Regions from separate parts of the Homo sapiens genome. Here regions 1, 2, 3, 4, 5 and 7 are each linked to region 6. The links are contacts of gene promoters, found by promoter capture Hi-C in blood cells and fetal thymus (Javierre and others, 2016). All regions are on one chromosome and are shown on one strand. The core of a region is centred on a gene start or on the middle of the fragment in contact, and the rest is flanking DNA. Distances in the headings are between cores, read along the strand shown. Region 1 holds the start of DTX3 (deltex E3 ubiquitin ligase 3). Region 2 overlaps OS9 (OS9 endoplasmic reticulum lectin). Region 3 has its middle 11 kb from the start of B4GALNT1. Region 4 has its middle 20 kb from the start of OS9. Region 5 overlaps B4GALNT1 (beta-1,4-N-acetyl-galactosaminyltransferase 1). Region 6 holds the start of INHBE (inhibin subunit beta E). Region 7 overlaps KIF5A (kinesin family member 5A).

The links. Contacts are between HindIII fragments. The CHiCAGO score rates a contact against its expected background, and 5 or more counts as called.
Region 1: the fragment with the promoter of DTX3 here is called in contact with the fragment with the promoter of INHBE in region 6 in 2 of 17 cell types (neutrophils and M2 macrophages); the score reaches 6.7 in neutrophils.
Region 2: a contact is called between a fragment that was not itself captured here and the fragment with the promoter of INHBE in region 6, in 3 of 17 cell types (M2 macrophages, naive CD8 T cells and erythroblasts). The highest score is 6.8, in M2 macrophages.
Region 3: a contact is called between a fragment that was not itself captured here and the fragment with the promoter of INHBE in region 6, in 1 of 17 cell types (M2 macrophages). The highest score is 5.2, in M2 macrophages.
Region 4: a contact is called between a fragment that was not itself captured here and the fragment with the promoter of INHBE in region 6, in 4 of 17 cell types (erythroblasts, M1 macrophages, naive CD8 T cells and 1 more). The highest score is 8.1, in erythroblasts.
Region 5: a contact is called between a fragment that was not itself captured here and the fragment with the promoter of INHBE in region 6, in 5 of 17 cell types (naive CD4 T cells, naive CD8 T cells, naive B cells and 2 more). The highest score is 6.7, in naive CD4 T cells.
Region 7: a contact is called between a fragment that was not itself captured here and the fragment with the promoter of INHBE in region 6, in 4 of 17 cell types (naive CD8 T cells, total CD8 T cells, naive B cells and 1 more). The highest score is 8.7, in naive CD8 T cells.

The regions. Positions count from the first base shown.
Region 1 is chr12:57,603,406-57,606,105 of GRCh38, reverse strand. DTX3 (deltex E3 ubiquitin ligase 3) reads right to left here and starts at 1,282. Exons shown (of 7, transcript NM_178502.4): 1 at 1,248-1,282; 2 at 375-535. It overlaps PIP4K2C (phosphatidylinositol-5-phosphate 4-kinase type 2 gamma), which reads right to left. Exons shown (of 10, transcript NM_024779.5): 10 at 2,688-2,700. RefSeq lists enhancers at 888-1,400, 1,401-1,912. The HindIII fragment of the contact is 28,357 bases long and covers 1-2,700 here.
Region 2 is chr12:57,704,856-57,707,555 of GRCh38, reverse strand. The region is part of intron 5 of OS9 (OS9 endoplasmic reticulum lectin); the gene reads right to left. Among named protein-coding and RNA genes, the nearest start is that of OS9, 12 kb to the right of the region's middle. The HindIII fragment of the contact is 1,629 bases long and covers 559-2,187 here.
Region 3 is chr12:57,642,744-57,645,443 of GRCh38, reverse strand. No RefSeq gene overlaps it. Among named protein-coding and RNA genes, the nearest start is that of B4GALNT1, 11 kb to the right of the region's middle. The HindIII fragment of the contact is 3,621 bases long and covers 1-2,700 here.
Region 4 is chr12:57,673,100-57,675,799 of GRCh38, reverse strand. It overlaps the pseudogene RPL13AP23. Among named protein-coding and RNA genes, the nearest start is that of OS9, 20 kb to the left of the region's middle. The HindIII fragment of the contact is 216 bases long and covers 1,219-1,434 here.
Region 5 is chr12:57,626,578-57,629,277 of GRCh38, reverse strand. B4GALNT1 (beta-1,4-N-acetyl-galactosaminyltransferase 1) reads left to right here. Exons shown (of 11, transcript NM_001478.5): 7 at 132-230; 8 at 375-565; 9 at 1,016-1,156; 10 at 1,420-1,660; 11 at 2,317-2,700. The coding sequence ends at 2,534. Among named protein-coding and RNA genes, the nearest start is that of B4GALNT1, 5.3 kb to the left of the region's middle. The HindIII fragment of the contact is 1,284 bases long and covers 715-1,998 here.
Region 6 is chr12:57,453,863-57,456,562 of GRCh38, reverse strand. INHBE (inhibin subunit beta E) reads right to left here and starts at 1,256. Exons shown (of 2, transcript NM_031479.5): 1 at 729-1,256; 2 at 1-469. The coding sequence starts at 1,026. RefSeq lists an enhancer at 1,283-1,577. The HindIII fragment of the contact is 16,061 bases long and covers 1-2,700 here.
Region 7 is chr12:57,585,352-57,588,051 of GRCh38, reverse strand. It overlaps KIF5A (kinesin family member 5A), which reads right to left. Exons shown (of 29, transcript NM_004984.4): 29 at 1,419-2,700. Among named protein-coding and RNA genes, the nearest start is that of PIP4K2C, 4.5 kb to the left of the region's middle. The HindIII fragment of the contact is 682 bases long and covers 955-1,636 here.

The DNA of each region.
Region 1 (2,700 bases), core at 33-2,532, 150 kb before region 6:
ATCTCCTCTCTTCTCTGCAGAATTCCATTATCAGCTTCTCCCCAAGTTGCTCAAGAAGGAACTTCAACATGCTAACCTTCCTCCTTTCTTCCCCAGCTCTGAGGCCCCCAAGAAAGCCTAGGGCACACATAAGAGAAGTCAGGAAAGAAAACGCCCACACAGGTGGAGGTCTTCTTGCCACCTCCCTCAGATCACATGGACCGGAATATTTCCTATGCTCCCCAACTCCTCGCCTGCTCCACATTGCCAAATAATTCAGCCCCTATTGCCAGGGAGCCTTCCTTGAGAGCTAACTCAGTCCCTTCTGCTGAAGTCTGTTAAGGATGTGAACAAAGTGGCAGCAGCCCCTGCAATAACAAAGTTCTCATTGTCACCTTTTAAACCCAGCACAGGCAGTGCTGTCTGTCAGCTCCCAAGTCTGGCATTTAGGGAGGGGCGGGGCTCACACAAGGGCTCAGCTGGAGGGGCCTGATGTTTTCCCTGAGTCTGGTCGCATTGGGCTACGGGGCTGTCTCCACAACACTTCCAAATGCAGCTCAAACAGAAAGAAGGGCCATTAGTGTGACCTCCATTTATTGACTGATCCAAGAAGGAGCAGCTGTCCCTTCATGCCTCCATCATCGTCCCCCAAGGCCAGATGCACCTCGAGATTCATAAGTGAAAATGGAACCCTAGAGTCTCAGCCCATACAGTCTATCCGCGATGCAACACTTCTCTCCCCATCACGGGGGACCCAGGACCTAGGTGTCCTAGGTCCAAGTCCTGCTGGCACAGAAAAGGGAGGCGGGGCCCCAGTTTAGGGTGGGTCTGTGATTCCTCTGTGGCAACCCAGGCCGGACAAGGAACCAGTCTCTCCCTCCAGACAGAGGCCAGAGGGAGGCACAGCCCGGATGGGCAAGGGTCCCTGGGGGCATCCACTGAAGCAGCTCCCGCCCTCCCCCCACGGCCTCCTCCAAGACCCGACCCGGAACCAACTCCCCACATCCCTCAGTAGCCAAAGCCCCCGGATCCCCACCGCCGGGTGGGGGTGCATGTCGGCCCGATCGCAGCCCTCAGAACCCCCGAATGGAGGCCAAGGCTGGAGGGTGCTAGAAAGATGATCGGCCGGGCACGGAGCGGGGAGCCCGGAGCCGCGCGCGGGGAGGGGAGGTGGAGGAGGGGGCGCCGGGGGAGCGGGGGGCGCGTGAGGGGTGCGAGCGGGGCCCGGGGGGCGCGCGGTGGGTGTGGGGGGCGCCGGGCTCACCTACCTCTCGTCAGCGCCGCCATTGCCGGTCACATGACTGAGGCTGTTGCTGGGATGACGGTCCGGGCCTTAGCAACAAGGAGGGGGAGACCCCGAAAGGTGGGGGATTGCAGGGGGTGCAGGCTGAGGAAAAGGGAAGGAGGGAGGACAGCACCCCCTTTCCCCTCACAGGTGATAATCACCGTTCCTTTGACCCCCTTCTATCCGCAAGCCCCTGCCCTTCCTCCCCAAAACAAAAATGGAGGCGCTGTCCCAGTCTTTGGAGGGAGGGGGTGGCGTCATGGAACTGAGGGTAGGAGGTTAAATCCCTGGAGACGCCACCCTACTCGCTCCCCGCTCCCGGCGGAGCACTCTCCCTTTTCTTTCCCAGCCAGCTGCGTAGCAGCTCCCAGGAGCTGGTGGTGGATGGGTGGGTGAAGTGTTGGTGGGTATATGGGGATTCGGGGGGAGGGCGGCAATTTTTTGAATCCTTATGGTAGAAGGGCCTTTGAGGAACAATGTGGGATGGGAAGAGTCATAGTAAAAAGAAAAGCATTGGCTCTAAAAAATAAACAAATCCGGGTACTAAACTATTTCAATCCCCTCCCTCATCTCCTGCCTCTTTCTAGATTGTTACCTCCTATGACCCCCACAACCTGCTCTCAGATGATCATTGGTCAGTGCCTCTGATTTTTCTTTCCACAAACAGGGATATGGAGGCTGGTGCAGAATGGGAAGCGAATACATTTTTTAAAAAGTGGCTCGAGGTGGTGGTGGTGTCAAGTGTATGGTTCAAATAGAGTTAAAAACTCTCAAAGAAGAAAAAAAAAAAGCTCTGCTCTGCTTCCCACATCAAGCAGTCTCCGCCCAATCCAACTCACTTCCCTGGGGCCACATCAAGCCAGGTTTTTCCACCAGCCAAAAGACTTCCTCAGCCAAGACAGGCAGGAATCTCCCAAACTGGCAACAACCTCTATTCATCCACCCCTTTTTCACTCCCCCCTCTAGACTGGAGGGCTAGTCACTTTCTTCACTTTCCCAGGACCCTGCTGTACTCTTCCTTCCCTCCAGGAAGAGGACAGCTTTCCCAGGAAGCCTGGGGGAATACTAGATTCCTTTTCTTTTAGCTGGTGGGCTGAGAGGCCTACTCACCTTTACAAAGATGGAGTGTTAGCAAGCCCAGAACTCTGGGAAGAGGAAGGGTCCCATCACCCTACTCTTCCCTGGCCCTCACTACCGCTGACCTCCCACAAGGTTAAAGACTAAGTTTTCCATTCCCGTGCACACCCTTCACAGCCTTTTTAAAAAAGTTCACAGCCATCTGTCTAGAAACCCACATCCTTAGTTAGGGGCCCAACACCTTGAACACCAGAATTCTTCAGCTGGTCTCTGCACCCTTAAACACAGGCTCCCTGAGAGAAGTGAAATTTAAAAAAAAAAAAAAAAAGGCATTTCTGTACAGAAATTTGGATTGAATA
Region 2 (2,700 bases), core at 124-2,623, 250 kb before region 6:
ATAGTGGAGCATAAAGCACCATCCCCTTGGTGCTTTCTCGTGACAGTGAGTGAGTTCTCAAGAGATCTGGTTGTGGCATGTCCCCCCTCTCTCTTTTGCTCCTGCTTCCACCATGTGAGACTCTGGCTCCCCACTTGCCTTTCACCATGATTGGAAGCTTCCTAAATCCTCCTCAGAAGTAGAGGCTGCTATGCTTCCTGTATGGCCAGCACAACTGTGAGACAATTAAACCTCTTTTCTTTATAAATTGCCCAGTCACAGGTATTTCTTTATAACAATGTGAGAATGGACTAATACAATGTTAGTGAAATACTAAATGAACAACAGAGAGGATAAACAAAACCAAAAGGTGGTTATTGGACTAATAAACTAGACAAGCCTCTGGCAACATAGATCAAGAAAAAAGAGAAAAGGCAAAGTCAATATTAGGAATGCAAAAGAGGATATATTTACAAAAAGAGATTATTAAAAAACAAAAAAATCTGTAATTTTATACTAATACATTTGAAAATTTAGACAAATGAATAATGGCCTATGAAATTATACTTTATTAAAGCTTCATGATGCAGCAAACCAAAAAAGTCTTATAATCTTTAAATAAATTAAATCAGTAGCAACAACGATCCCCCCAATATACCGGTTTTGTAGCATATTGTGGGGATGGGGAGGATTTATTTTATCTAAACTTTTTTTTTTTTTTTTTTTTTTTCAGAGAGTCATGCTCTGTCACCCAGGCTGGAGTCCAGTGGCGTGATAACAGCTCCTAACAGCCTCAACCTCTCCAACTAAAGCAATCCTCCTGCTTCAGCCTCCCAAGTAACTGGGACTACAGGTGTACACCACCACATCAGGCTAATTTAAAACTTTTTTTTTGAGAGACAGGAGTCTCACTATGTTGCTCAGGCTGGGCTCCTAGGCTCAAGAAATCTTCCTGCCTTGGCCTCCCAAAGTGTTGGGATTACAGGCATGAGCCACCACACCCGACCCTACCTAACCTTTGAAGAATAATCTCTATCTTAGCAAACTGCTCCACAGAGCAGAAAAAGAGGGAAGCTCCTCAAGATATTTTATGAAGTGAATGCAACTTTATACAAAAACAAGGTAAGTACAAGAAGAGAAAATTATAGACCAATTCACTTACGAAAATAGTTATAAAAGTTAATTATACTATCAGGATACTGAATATAGCAATGTACAAAAAAAAAACTTCATGACCATGGATTATCCCAGAAGTGAAAGAATAAAAAAAAACTAGAAAATAAATTAACATTTTTAATATTAAAAAAACCATATGACTATCTCAATAGACACAGAATAAGCATGTGTTAAACTTCCACACCTATACATGGTGAAAATATCCAGCAGTCTAGGTACAGAATGGAACTTCACATACCTGATAAAAGGTATCTGCAAAAAGCCTGCAGGAAAACATCACGCTAACAGTGAAACTTCAGGAGCATCCCCTTTAAAGTCAGAAACAAGTCAAGGATGCCCATCATTGCCACTTCTGTTGCACTCGAGGTATAAGAAAAATGAAATGTATACAACTTAGAAAGGAAGAAACCAAAACTGTTTCTCTTGCAGATGACATAATTATCTATACAGAAAATCCACAAGAATTTGTGAACTACTAAAAATGAAAGAGTTCAAAAAAGAGTTGCTGAGTGTAAGATCAATATGTAAAACCAATAATGTGACCATGTACCAGCAACAATCAGAAAACGGAATTTTTGGCCAGGCACAGTGGCTCATTGCCTGTAATCCCAGCACTTTAGTAGGCCGACGGTGGATCACATGAGGCCAGGAGTTTGAGACTAGCCTGGCCAATATGACAAAACCCCCGCTCTAAAAAAATTACAATAATTAGCTGGGCGTGGTGGTACGCACCTGTAATCCCAGCTACTCGGGAGGTTGAGGCAGAGAATCACTTGAACCTGGGAGGCAGAGGCTGCAGTGAGCCAAGATCGCACCCCAGCCTTGATGACAGAGCAAGACCCCATCTCAAAAAATAATAATAATAAAGAAAATGAAATTTGTAAAAGATGCTACTTAAAATAGCATCTAAAACTATAAGGTCCTGTATGTTTGAAATATATGCATACACAAACAAGACAAAAATAAAAACTATAAGGTATCTAGACTAATCTCACATAAGATGTAGAAGAACTTTTAGAGAAAATTAAAGCTTTACTAAAATATAGGACAACAAGTAAATGGAAACAAACACGTTCATAGTGTATGAAGACTTCATATTATAAAGTATCAATTCTCTTCAAATCAGTCTAAAATTAAATTCCAGCCAAAATCCCCAAAAGGAGTTTTAACAGAACTTGGCCAATGATAGCCCCAACAGTTTTGAAGAAAAAAGGGGAGTATATCCTACCAGATACCAAGATTTATGAAAAAGCTATAGTAATTAAAACAACGTGGTAATGACATAGGAATAGATAGACTATTGGAACAAAAGAGAAGCCAAGAAGAAAATGCACATATATTTGAGAACTTGGTAAATAACTGAGGAGGCATTACAAATCAGAGAGGAATGTATGGACTATTCAATAAACAGTGCTGGGGCAACTGTGGAAAATAGGTGTATCTAGGTCCTAACCTTATAACATACATTAAGATAAATTTTTACTGAATTGTAGTCCAAAGTATGAGAAACTCTATTCACACTTTTCTACTTTTTTAGAAACCTGA
Region 3 (2,700 bases), core at 157-2,656, 190 kb before region 6:
TTTTGCCATGTTGGCCAGGCTAGTCTAAAATTGCTGACCTCAAGTGATCCACCTGTCTCGGCCTCCCAAAGTGCTGGGATTACAGGTGTGAGACACCATGCCTGGCCTAATTTTTTATCTAGATTATTTATGAAAACTGCAATAGTCATTGTTTAAAGTTATGGAACCACCATTGCAAAATTATAACTGAGACAGTGAAAAGATTTAACCTAACTGACTCCATCTTGCTTCTAACCTCCAAACTGCCCTTGCTCATCCTGGACTTTGGGAGGAACTTAGCTTATAGTTTAGCTTTCAGACAAAGCTAAACTAATAGCAGTTCAAACAAATAGCAGTTCTTTCCCAAAACAAACCTCATTACTACCTGTGGACTAGACTGCCTAAAGTCACAGAATTAGAAGTTATGGTAATTTTATTAAATAATTCAAGATGTAGTTATTTTCATTAAACCAATATCAATGTCTTATTTATTAAAGACTATACAAGCAAAGTTTTATTCTGTCTTGGGCTAGGTTTATAATTTTGTAAGCCCTATGCCAAGTTTTGACAACTTATAGTATTTGGCAGGGATAAGTATGAAATTGCTTGATTAAGAAATGCAAATAAAAATGTATGCTGGCAATTCTTATGACATTTCTAATATTATTTTACCAATAATTTTAAAGCTAGTTTATTTATTAAAGATTTTACTTAAGTTCTGTAAACTTGAAAAAGCATTTGACTAGTCTTTTCTTTTTTCTTGATAAAGTATATGATTCAAGCACTTTTACTTTTCTTTAAGCCAATTAATTAGAGCTCTTTTATATATTTTCAGTAGTGAAACATTGTGTACACAACACATAAATACATAGATGTGCATGTATTTCATGCCTATCAAGGTACATCTTATAGATTCAAAAAACCCTTTTTTTCCCCCTGTCTTAGACTTTCAGATTCTTGATAACCTGCTTCACAACCCTAGGCAGTTGTTAGCAAAACAGACTTAAATTTGCATATTAAAGGAAATAACCCAGGTGAAAATTAAATAGCAAAATTTACATCATAAGATACAGAGAGGGCCGGGCGTGGTGGCTCATGCCTGTAATCCCAGCACTTTGGGAGGCTGAGGTGGGTGGATCACCTGAGGTCAGGAGTTCAAGACCAGCCTGACCAACATGGTGAAATTCCATCTGTACTAAAAATACAAAAAATTAGCCAGGCATGGTGTGGAGTGCCTGTAATCCCAGCTACTTGGGAGGCTGAGGCAGGAGAATAACTTGAAACCAGGAGGCGGAAGTTGCAGTGAGCCGAGATTATGCCATTGCACTGCAGCCTGGGCAGCAAGAGCTAAACTCCGTCTCAAAAAAAAAAAAAAAAAACGAACATGAAGGCCTTTTAAATACAAACATACACACGCTCTCATACACACATACATTTTGGATGTTAGCTTTTAATTAAGCTGACTTTAACCATTAAGCTGCTTTAAAAAAATTTTTTTTCTTTTTTTTGTTTTTTTTTTTAGGCCAGGCGCGGTGGCTCACACCTGTAATCCCAGCACTTTGGGAGGCTGAGGCTGGCAGATCACAAGGTCAGGAGATCAAGACCATCCTGGCTAACATGGTGAAACCCCATCTCTACTAAAAATACAAAAAATTAGCCAGGCATGGCAGCACTCACCTGTAGTCCCAGCTACTTGGGAGGCTGAGGCAAGAGAATCATTTGAACTTGGGAGGTGGAAGCTGCAGTGAGCTGAGATTGCACCACTGCACTCCAGCCTGGGCAACAGAGCAAGACTCCATCTCAAAAACAAAAATTTTTTTTAAATCTCATTACTGAAGCAGCCTTATTGTCTGGGGTGATACCCAAGGTTTATTATCTCACAGCCACAAAGATCAAGGACACGAACACACAAGAGTGAGGTTAAGAATGGAAGTTTAGGGCCAGGCGTGGTGGCTCATGCCTGTAATCCCAGCACTTTGGGAGGCCAAGGTGGGTGGATCACCTGAGGTCAGGAGTTCGAGACCAGCCTGGCCAACATGGTGAAACCCTGTCTCCTCTAAAAATACAAAAATTAGCTGGGTGTGGTGGCAGGCACCTGTAATCCCAGCTACTTGGGAGGCTGAGGCAGGAGAATTGCTTGAACCCAGGGGGCAGAGGTTGCAGTGAGCCAAGATCACACCATTGACTCCAGCCTGGGCTACAAGAGCTAAACTCTGTCTCCAAAAAAAAAAAAAAAAAAAAAAAAAAAAAAAAACGCTCGGCGCGGTGGCTTATGCCTGTAATCCCGGCTCTCTGGGAGGCCAAGGCAGGCAGATCACCTGAGATCAGGAGTTCGAGAGCAGCCTGGTCAACATGGTGAAACCCCATCTCTACTAAAAATACAAAAATTAGCCAGGTGTAGTGGTGGGTGCCTGTAATCCCAGGTTCTTGGGAAGCTGAGGCAGGAGAATCACTTGAACCCAAGAGGCGGAGGTTGCAGTGAGCCAAGATTGCGCCACTGCACTCCAGCCTGGGCGACAGACAGGGACTCCGTCTCAAAAAAAAAAAAAAGAGAATGGACGTTTAATTGGCAAAAGAAAGTGAATAGCTCTCTGCTACAGAAAGGGGTCCTGGAAAAATGGATTGCTGGATCCACAGTGAAATGCAGGGAGTTTTATAGATGAGCTGATGGGGAGGCGGTGTCTGATTTACATAGAGTGCAAAAAACTGGTTAGGACCAGA
Region 4 (2,700 bases), core at 77-2,576, 220 kb before region 6:
GACAGAGCGAGACTCCGTCTCAAAAAAAAAAAAAAAAAGGAATAAAAGTAATTTATTTGATTCCGATCACAAAATACAGGCAAGAAGCACGGGCAATGCCTGTAACTCCTTGATCACACATCTTCCCAGTCTGTGCTTTTATAAATACCCTTCGTACAACAGCAAGCTAATGCTGTCCCCCAAGCGCTTGTTCACATTCTAACAGCTGCAAAGTATAGTGTATGACTAGTTGGGAAGTTAAACAGATGCCCTGCTCACAAGGTAGGGCCCCTCCAATTAGTGTTCCAGCTCCCTTTCGCTGATATTGAAACTGAAGTAATTTGTTGCTCTATTGGTCACAGATGAATTATGCCTGCACAATTCTTCGAGGGCTTTAAGTAACCTTATTGAAAGGCAGTGACTAAGACCCTTTCCTTGCTCCCAAGCTTCCTAAGTCCCAGGCTGCCTGTGGCACCTGGACTGCTGCCCCTGGGTCTCCCACATTCCAGGGCCACGATGGAGGAAGGGCAGGCCAGGCCAAGCATAAGTAATAAACAGTCTTTACCGGGCTCAGGCCAGGAGTCCGTGGGCCTTGAGGACCTCCCTGTATTTGTCAATTTTCTTCTCCACATTCTTTTCGGCCTGTCTCCATAGCCTCAGGAGTTGTTTCTTCTGGTCCTGGATCTTGGCTTTCTCCTTCCCCTTCTCCTCCAGGGTGGCTGTCACGGTCTGGTACTTTCAGCCAATCTCGTGAGCCAGGTACCCCAGGTAGGCGAACTTTCTCGTAGGCTTCAGACGCACAACCTTGGGGGCAACAGGAAGCACCATCCGCTTTTTCCTCTCACGGGGCGGTGGGACGCCACCGAACACCTGGCGGCAGGTCCTAGGCGGCCTGGCTGGCTGCTGTCGTGGGGCGGCCCGGCTCGCAAGCTCTGCCAGAAGACGTGGGGCCTCGGGAAGGGCTGGTGTTCATCCGCTTGCGGAGGAAAGCCAGGTACTTCAACTTGTTTCCGTAGAAATTGCCAGAAATGTCGATGCCCTCGCAGCGCACGATCACCACCTTCCGGCCCAGCAGCACCTGCTTAGCCACGATGGCCGCCAGGCAGCCCAGGAGGTGACCTCGGCCATCGAGCACTAGGACCTGCCCCTCCGCCATCTTCAGCAGCCTCCTAGAAAAGATTGAATTATAAATCAGAAACTTCCCATGAAGAAAATGTCAATACTATTTCTTCACAAGCTTTTCCAAAAATAGAAGAAAATGAAGCTCTTCCAAGCCCATTCAATGAGGTAATACTACTCAGATACCAAAATCAGACAAACACAATACAAGAAAACTGTAGACTATTTCTTATGAATATAGACCCAGAAATTCTCCACAAATTACCATGAATTCAACAACAAATAAAAAGGATTATATACCACGACCAAGTGGGATTTATCCCAGGAATGAAAGCTTGAGTTAACATAAGAAATAAAATTAATGTTGTACATCCTATCCATAGACTAAAGGACAAAAACCACATGGTCATCTTAGTAGACACAGAAAAGACATTTGACAAAATTCAACATCTCTTCATGATAAAAACATTTAATAAACCAGGAAGATAAAGGGACTTAATCAACCTGATAAAAGTCATCAAGCATCTACAAAAAACCCACAACTAATATCATACTTTTTGGTAAAAAATGAATGATTACTCTCTCTAATATTAGGAATAAGACAAGAATACCTACTCTTACCATTTCTATTTGACATTGTACCGGACATTCTAGCCAGTGTAATTAGGCAAGAAGATGAATGTTGTATGTAGATGAATGAATGAATGTAAAAGGCATACAGATTGGAGAGAAAAACAAAACCATCTCTATTTGCAGATGACCTTATATCTAAAATATCCTAAGGAATTCACTAAAAAATCTATTAGAACTAATAGAAGAATTCAACAAGGTTGCAGAATACAAGAATCAATTGTATTTCTATACACTTGCAATGAACAATCTAAGAACAAAAGAACATAATTTCATTTGCAATACCGTCAAAAAGAATAAAATAATTAGAAACACACGTAGCAAAGAAGTACAAAACATATACTCTAGGCCAGGTGCGGTGGCTCATGCGTGTAATCCCAGCACCTTGGGAGGCCAAGGCGGGCGGATCACCTGAGGCCAGGAGTTCGAGACCAGCCTGGCCAACATGGTGAAACCACATTCTACTAAAAATACAAAAAAAAATTAGTCGAGCATGGTGGCGGGTGCCTATAATCTCAGCTACTTGGGAGGCTGAGGCAGGAGAATTGCTTGAACCCGGGAGGCCAGCCAAGGTTGCGGTGAGCTGAAATTGCGCCACTGCACTCCAGCCTGGGTGACAGAGCAGGACTCCATCTCAAAAAAAAAGAGAAAAGAGGATAAAAGAGGCTAAGTGAACAAAGCTAGTCTTCAAAACCACATATTGTGTGATTACATTTATATGAAATGCCCAGAATAGGTAATTCAATGGACAGAAAGTAGATAAGAGGTTACGTTGGGCTGGGGAGCTCACTGAAAGTTGGGAAATGGGTAGTGACTGCTAACGGGTGCAGAGTTTTTTTGGGGGTGATAAAAATGTTCTAGAACTGATTGTAGTGCACAACTCTGTGAATATACTAAAAACCATTGAATCTACACTTTAAATTGGTGTGTTAATACTGAGTATCAACTTGATTGAAGGATGCGAAGTATTGT
Region 5 (2,700 bases), core at 107-2,606, 170 kb before region 6:
TAAGAACCTTCTGTTCTTGTCCACCAAGGCCTAGAAAGGTGGGACACAGAGTAGGCACTTAAATATTGATTGGCTGAAAACAGAATGTTATCCCACCCTTCAGGGTCAAATGCCATGTCCTTTCTTCCCAGTCCGGTTCTCCACCGAGGGACATGAGGCTGCTTTCACTATCCGCATAAGACACCCGCCCAACCCTCGGCTGTACCCACCTGGGTCTCTACCCCAGGGAGGTGAGGCTGGTAGGGGCAGGGACATATTAGAACCAGCCTTGGTGGGGAGCAAGTTGGGAGAGGGCAGTCCTGGGAGGGGATATCTACCTGTTCCCCTCTCCCAACCCTCCTTGTCTGCACCCAACCCTGTGCCCCCAATCTCAGCCCAGTACAACATCAGCGCTCTAGTCACGATTGCCACCAAGACCTTCCTCCGTTATGATCGGCTACGGGCTCTCATCACCAGTATCCGCCGCTTCTACCCAACGGTTACCGTGGTCATCGCTGACGACAGCGACAAGCCAGAGCGCGTTAGTGGCCCCTACGTGGAACACTATCTCATGCCCTTCGGCAAGGTGTGCAGCTAGCAGGCTGAACGGCAGGCCAGAGGACTCCCGCAGGGGGTGTGCCCTCAATCTGCAGCCTCCAGGGTAGTGATTCGAGGACCACCTGCCTCAGAATCATGGGGTGCCTGTTAAGCATGAGGATTCCTGGAATGTAAGCTTCGTGGGAGCAGGAAATTCTCTCTGAATTCTTAGAATGGTGCTTAGTGCCTAATGGCATTCAATAAAATAGCTGATGAATGAATAAATAAATGCACACGGAAATTAAACGCATTCTAAGACCACTGACTTGGAACCTCTGTGGGGATCTGCATTTCTTTTACCTAGCTCCTGGCCTTTCGAAAGCACTCAAAAGTCTGGAGAAGAATACAAGCTGAGAAGGGTCGGGGGAGAGAAAGAAAGGTGGCAGAGGGCCATGTCCTATTTCTGCAGCCTCCCCAACCACACACACCTTTCTGCCAGGGCTGGTTCGCAGGCCGGAACCTGGCCGTGTCTCAAGTAACCACCAAGTACGTGCTGTGGGTGGACGACGACTTCGTCTTCACGGCGCGGACGCGGCTGGAGAGGCTTGTGGACGTGCTGGAGCGGACGCCGCTGGACCTGGTAGGGCAGGGGCTGCAGGATGTGGGGGTGGAGAAGGGCCTTGAACAGGCTAAGGCCACAGCGGGGGCGCTGCGGCCAGGAACGGCCAGCCCTAGGACAAAGAGAGAACCACGAAGTGGGGCCTGGGAACTGTCTGGGTCCTGCAGGGGTGAAGCGGAAGAGGATGGGGCAGGGGTACCCCCGAAGGCACCGGAGCGCAGACCTTGACCCCTTCGGGTCCCCTATCCCAGGCCCGCCTGGAGGCAACCTCCCTCTCCCTGCAGGTGGGGGGCGCGGTGCGCGAGATCTCCGGCTTTGCCACCACTTATCGGCAGCTGCTGAGCGTGGAGCCCGGCGCCCCAGGCCTCGGGAACTGCCTCCGGCAAAGGCGCGGCTTCCACCACGAGCTCGTCGGCTTCCCAGGCTGCGTGGTCACCGACGGCGTGGTTAACTTCTTCCTGGCGCGGACTGACAAGGTGCGCGAGGTCGGTTTCGACCCCCGCCTCAGCCGCGTGGCTCATCTGGGTGAGTGGCACCCCCTCCCGGTCGACCCTGGCAGGAGCCCCACGGGGAGCTGGCGCACGGTCACGCGCCTCTCCTCCTAGGCTGCACCCGCGCCCAGCCGCCAGCGGGAACCCCAGAACAGTTCTGCAGTGATTTACCAAGACCTGCACCTGGGCGAGAGACAGCTCCCACCCTCTCCCAGCCCCGCATACTCTTTTTTTTTTTTTATAAATATATATATTTTTTGTTATACTTTAAGTTCTAGGGTACATGTGCACAACGTGCAGGTTTGTTACATGTGTATACATGTGCCATGTTGAATCTCCATTCCCAGCACAGCCGCTGGGCCCCCATAAGCTTCCCCATCACTGTTCCCGCCACCCCTGCTCTACTCCCAGGGCTTCCCCTAGTTCAGACCACAGTCGGTGCAACCCATCTGGCGTTTATTTAACCTCTGGGAGTAGGGGTAGGTTTTTCGATTTTCAAAGCACAAGTATATTGACTCCATTTACACAAGAGTAAGACTGAGACCCAGGGAGTTGATTTACATGCTCAGGGTCCTTAGAAACAAGCCTTTGCACACACACTTTCCACACCCTAAATTTGAGAGTTCTCCCTTACCAGTCGGCCTTCTGCACCCTCAGGATCCCTCACTGTGTACTCCCCTCCACCCCCAGAATTCTTCTTGGATGGGCTTGGTTCCCTTCGGGTTGGCTCCTGCTCCGACGTCGTGGTGGATCATGCATCCAAACTGAAGCTGCCTTGGACATCAAGGGATGCCGGAGCAGAGACTTACGCCCGGTACCGTTACCCAGGATCACTGGACGAGAGCCAGATGGCCAAACACCGGCTGCTCTTCTTCAAACACCGGCTGCAGTGCATGACCTCCCAGTGATGGCCCGCTGGGGATTTCTGACTGTCAGGCTGGGCCTGCCTCCTTGTCCCTGCCAGGAATTTCCAACAAACCCCACCACCCTGTGAGCACTCTACTGGCTGTCCCTGAGCCTCTAGTTCCTCACTCTTCCTTTTCAGAACCTGATGCCCAGTAGGGGTTGTCCTGG
Region 6 (2,700 bases), core at 7-2,506:
AAGTCTACGTAATGGTCTCGCCTGCAACATAAGGGGGTCGCAGGCTCACAGGTGGGGGTCCTCCTCCTGGCCCGGCCTGCTCCAGGCTCATTGGCTCGGATCTTAAGCTCTAGGAAGGGCTGCTGGTGTCCTGCTGTGTCCAAGAGCCGCCTCGGTTGTCCAGTAACTGTGCTGTTGCCTTCTAGGGGTCTGCAGTCTAGTTGCAGTTTCAGGACACCAGACTTCTCACCCCTCAAGCCACTAGAGGGCAGAGTTAAGGTATGCCAGCCCAGGTTGGTGATGTGGTGCTCAGCCAGGAGAGTGCGGGACCCTTGGCGCCTCCTCCTTGGTCCCCATCGGAAGATCCTCAAGCAAAGAGTGCCAGGAAGGGTGGGGAGCACGTGCAGCCACAGGCGGGCATGGTACAGGTGGTGGGACCGAGGAGTGGACAGGTGAAAAGTGAGCAGGGAGCTGTAGGCTGAAGTGGAGTCTGCCCGAAAGACAGAAAAGGGAAAGAAAATGTGAGTAGAGATGAAGCTCTCCTCTGAGACTCCCCAAGCCCTGCCCACTGCTCTCCCTCGAACCTACCTCTAGAAAAGTAGAGACTGCTTTGTGTCCTCTGCAACCAGTCCCTGCCCCAGCTCCTCCTTCTCCTGCCACACCCCACTCCCTCTGCTGCTCCTGCCAGGCTCCCCTTCTGCCTCCCTTTCCCTGTCTGCTCTTTGCCTGTTGCTCTCTCCCTCACCCACCTGTGACAGTAGCAAAGCTGATGACCTCCTCCCCATTCCCTGGAGCCACACTCCCTGGCTGTAGTCTCCGGAGGGCTCTGGTCAGCGCTGCCTGGGGTGGAGGATGAGTTATTCTGGGACGACTGGTCAGGTGCAACCCATCCAGGATTTGCTGCTTGGCTAGCTCCAGCACCAGAGCTCGTTCTGCTTGGGGTGCCAGTTTGGAGCCCCCACAGGAGGGACACACAGACCCTGTCCCCTGTGCTCGCACCAGTGCCCACAGCAGCACCAGCCAGAGCTGGACATCAGGGAGCCGCATGCTCCTGGTGAATGGCCCTGGTTCAGGAGCCTCGGATGGCAGTTGCTCCGTCTGTTGAGTCTGATTGCTGGGGGCCAATGAGGGCACAGTGACAGCAGACACCACTGCCACACCTACCCTTGGCCAAGGGTACAGCCACCTGTCTTCTATTGTCTGGGACTCAGGAAGGCTGAAAGTAGATCATCTGATGGATAGCTGTGCTTGACCCTCACAGCTCATGTCTGGCTACTGACCTGGGGCCTCTTTAGAGCCAGCTGCCTGGGTCTTCCAAACCTAGTGGTCAGCCAGCCGACCTACCCTCTGAGTCCCAGGATTGGCCAGCTGTGCTGCCCATCAGGCCCCTGCAGGGGGTGGAGGTCCTCCTCCCCATCAGCTCAGGTTTCACCATCTGGCCATGGTGACTGGGCCTGAAGTAGGGGTATGGGGGTGGGGGGGTGCAATGTGGACACGCATGATGCAAGAAAGAGGATGATTTCACATGCTCAGTCCCCAAGGTCTGGGACTTGGGGGAGGGAACGCCTTATGAGCCAGGTGGGGAAGGGCAATTTTCCCTCATACCTCTAGTCTTTCTAGCTTCACCACTGCTGCAGCAGTTTCCATGAGGCAGCTGTGAGTTCCAGTGGGTATTCCTCTGGGGCCCTTAGGCCAGAAGGAAAATTCTGGTCTCTTTATTTCTAGCACTGGGGCTAGGACAGGGATGAGGGTTTGGGCGGGTAGGAGAATGGAGCCCTCTTGCTCAGGCCCAGGTGGCAGTGCCACGAGGCACAGAAGTCACCCCCTGACCCTGCCTGTGCTGGCCGCCCAGAGTCCAGTTGGCCTGGAGCATGATGTGGAGCATGATGTGGAGGAGGGCCAGAGCCGGCGGGGGTTGGGGCGGGGAACGTGTTCCTGTGATGTCTGGGGAAGCCCAGAGAGGTGGTGGTGGTGGTGATGCAATCTTACACAGGGCAGAGTCCATCAGGACTGTCAGGGGGCATGACACTTGGGAGGGCCTATACCCAGCTGCCACTTCTCTTTCAAGGGACTGTGAGAGTTGCCTAAATTTGGGGCATCCTAGAAGTAGTGCCAGGCCTCCTTTTTTTCTTACATTTTTAAAATTTAAATTTTATTTTATTTTACTGAGGTAAGGTCTCAATCTGTTGTTCAGGCTGGAGTGTAGTGGCACAATCATAGCTCACTGCAGCCTTGAATTCCTGGGCTCAGACAATCCTTCTGCCTCAGCCTCCTTAGTAGTTGGGACTACAGGTGCGCACCACCACACCTGGCTAATTTTTAAATTTCCCACAGAGACAGGGTCTCGCTATGTTGCCCAGGCTGGTCTTGAACTCCTGGGCTCAAGCAATCCACTTGCCTCAGCCTCCTAAAGTGCTGAGGTTACAGGCGTGAGCCACCGCACCACCCTTCAGGCCTGTTAATGGGGGTAGAAAATGGGAGCTCTAAGAGCTTTTGACAACAAAGCAAGGCAAATACAGCAGTCTTGGTTCCCAGTCTCAGCCCTCCTGACCACATTTTCTCACTGTCTTTATTTTATTTTATTTTATTTTATTTTTTGAGGCTGAGTCTCGCTCTGTCGCCCAGGCTGGAGTGCAGTGGCACAATCTCGGCTCACTGCAAGCTCCACCTCCCGGGTTCACACCATTCTTCTGCCTCAGCCTCCCGAGTCGCTGGGACTAC
Region 7 (2,700 bases), core at 46-2,545, 130 kb before region 6:
CAAGGACTGTTGTCCAGAAGAAATGTCCACTGTATTTGGTAACTAATGCCATTTGGAAAAGCAGTTTTGAGCAGAACAAGAGGCAGATCAAGGTGGGCTAAGGAATGAATAGGGGGTGAGGAAGTGGGGATGGGAAGCTTGGGATGGTTTCTGGATATCTGACTTTAAGAAAACAAGTAAGATAGAGAAACACACAGTTAGAGAAACACACAGTAAAGGGAGGGACTCTTATGGGAAGGACCTTACAAGGAGATGAGACCACTGAGACAGGCATTAATAAAGAAGATGCACCGAGGCGGGCGGATCACTTGAGGCCAGGAGTTTGAGACAAGCCTGGCCAACATGGTGAAAACCCATCTCCATTAAAAATGCAAAAATTAGCCGGGCATGGTGGTGTGCACATGTAGTCCCAGATACTCAGGAGGCTGAAGCAGGAGAATTGCTTGAACCTGAGAGGCGGAGGTTGCTGTGAGCCGAGATTGTGCCGCTGCACTCCAGCCTGGGCAACAGAGCGAGACTCTGTTTTAAAAAAAAAAAAAAGATGCAAACTCCTCAAGTCTCCATCAGTTTATCAGTTTTAGATATGTTATATATTTGTATATTGAGATTCTATATCAGTATCTCAAGAATGAAATATCTAGAAGGGATTCACTTTAGCCCAGAGAAAGGAGATTTATCACTGGTCAGAAGGGAGAAGGAAAGGATAAGTGCAGACACAGATAGGTAATTGTGTAGGTGCATGTGGGCAGGGGGCAAGATAAAAGAATTTCAGGCTCAAGTGCCTTAGATGACAAAGTTGTTGCCTGACAGAGGAGGGTGGAAAGGGTGTAGACCCTTGCTCTGGGAGATAGGAGAGGAAAGTGAGAAGCACCGAAAGTCCGGGCAGGTTTGTAGGCTCTTCAGTTTTACTTGCCCCAGTTTTTTGGGTGTGCAGTTTTCTCCATCTGAGAAGCTTTGAGATATGAGCAGAGAAGAGAGGTGGAGTATGCTTTAAAATGGGGGTTGGAAGGGTGATTGTAGTGGATGATCCTGGGACAGGAATATTGATCTGTTGGCTGTGGAGAGATGGTGAAACACTGGAGTGGGAAGGAATTGATGCCAGGACTGAGACTGCTCTGGGTCAAAAATGAAAGAACAAGATAGTGCTTTTGGTAAAAATTACAAACAGTATAGATATCCACCAGTCGTAGACTGGTTGAATGAACTGTAGGATAAATATGTGAAAAATTATATTTTAATGAGGTCAATTGATATATATTGACATACAAAGATCTCCAGGATATATTGTCAAGTAGGAAAAAAATCAAGCCTTATGTAAATCTATAGAAAAACATCTGGAAGGATATATTCTATCAAGTTCCATTTCATCCAAAGAAGGCAGTGAGATTGGGAAGGGATAAAGAATATTTACAACAACATAGAGTTATCATTGAATTTATTTTATTTTAAAGTTATCTATGTACACCAAGTAAATACACACAGGGGGTTGCGCAGTTTGGTTTGTCTTCCACGCTGGCATGCAACATTTTGGCAGATGTGAGTGGGCAGGCCAGGTGCCCCTTGCAGTGACCCTGGCTCTGAAAGGGATGCGGTGAAGGTGGGGAGCAGGAGGAGGAGGAGGATGTAGTGTGAAGCTTCTGGTGAAGGGTTTGCGTGTGTGTTGTTTCTTTTTTATGTAAGTGAATTATATTTCCCTTACATCTTGCTAAAGAGAAGGCTGCTCCCTCTGTGTCATCTCTCTCCTCATCTGCGCTACACCCTCACATTTCCTTATGTGTTTTTAAAAGAACCATGTGGTGGCAACATTACATAAAACCCCCTGGATTCTTAAGTGCCCTGCTGACAGCAAATATTAGCCTAAGTCCACAGGCCCACAGGAACCTTCCTTCCACCCTAGTGGGTCTGGAGACAGCATGGCTTGTCTACCCCACCGTTGCCCTCTTTTCCATGAGTTGCAGCTTTAGTGCAGAGGAGCCAGATTGGACCCCCTTCCTCAGAACAATGGTTTTCAAACTACTCCACAGAATCCTCAGGGTCTCTTAGGACTGTTCAAGGGCTCATTTGCTGAGGAGCCTTTGAACAGTCAGTCCTAAGAGACGCTGAGACTTCTTCCACCAAAAAAAAAAAAAAAAAAAAATGCAAACTGCCCAGGTCTGCATTACTTTATTTTTTATATTGGGGTTCTATGTAAGATTTGTTTTTGAAAAACATTTAAAAATCACTGCTTTGGATTTATTCCACACTCCACTGGTATTTTTCCCCCTGCAGTTCTCCCTAACTGCTAAAAGGAGCTCAGCAGGTAAAGGGAGCAGGGCCTCTTTTCCTTGAAGGAGTCATGGGCCAGTGCAGCCTGCGCTTACCAGCTGGCATTCCCACTCAGCTTCCTTTCCTGACTTAGAAGTTGGGTGATAGGCTGCCCTGCCGCTGGAGAATCTTGGTCTTCCTCCTAGAAAAGACTGGATATCAGGACACCAGACTTTCTCTCCTGGTTTGGAATGGCTAGTGACCTCCATCCCTGCAGTTACCTAGAAAACCACCTTAGCACCATGTGGAAGGAAAGGACCGTCTGAAACTAAAACAACAGTCCTCTTCAGTATGGAGGGTGCTGCATATGGGCTGAGAATGGCTGGGAGAAGACCCCTCAGGGTCAAGCCTTAGAGCTTCCCACCTCTTGAAAATCCACCCTGCCCCTTTCTTTAA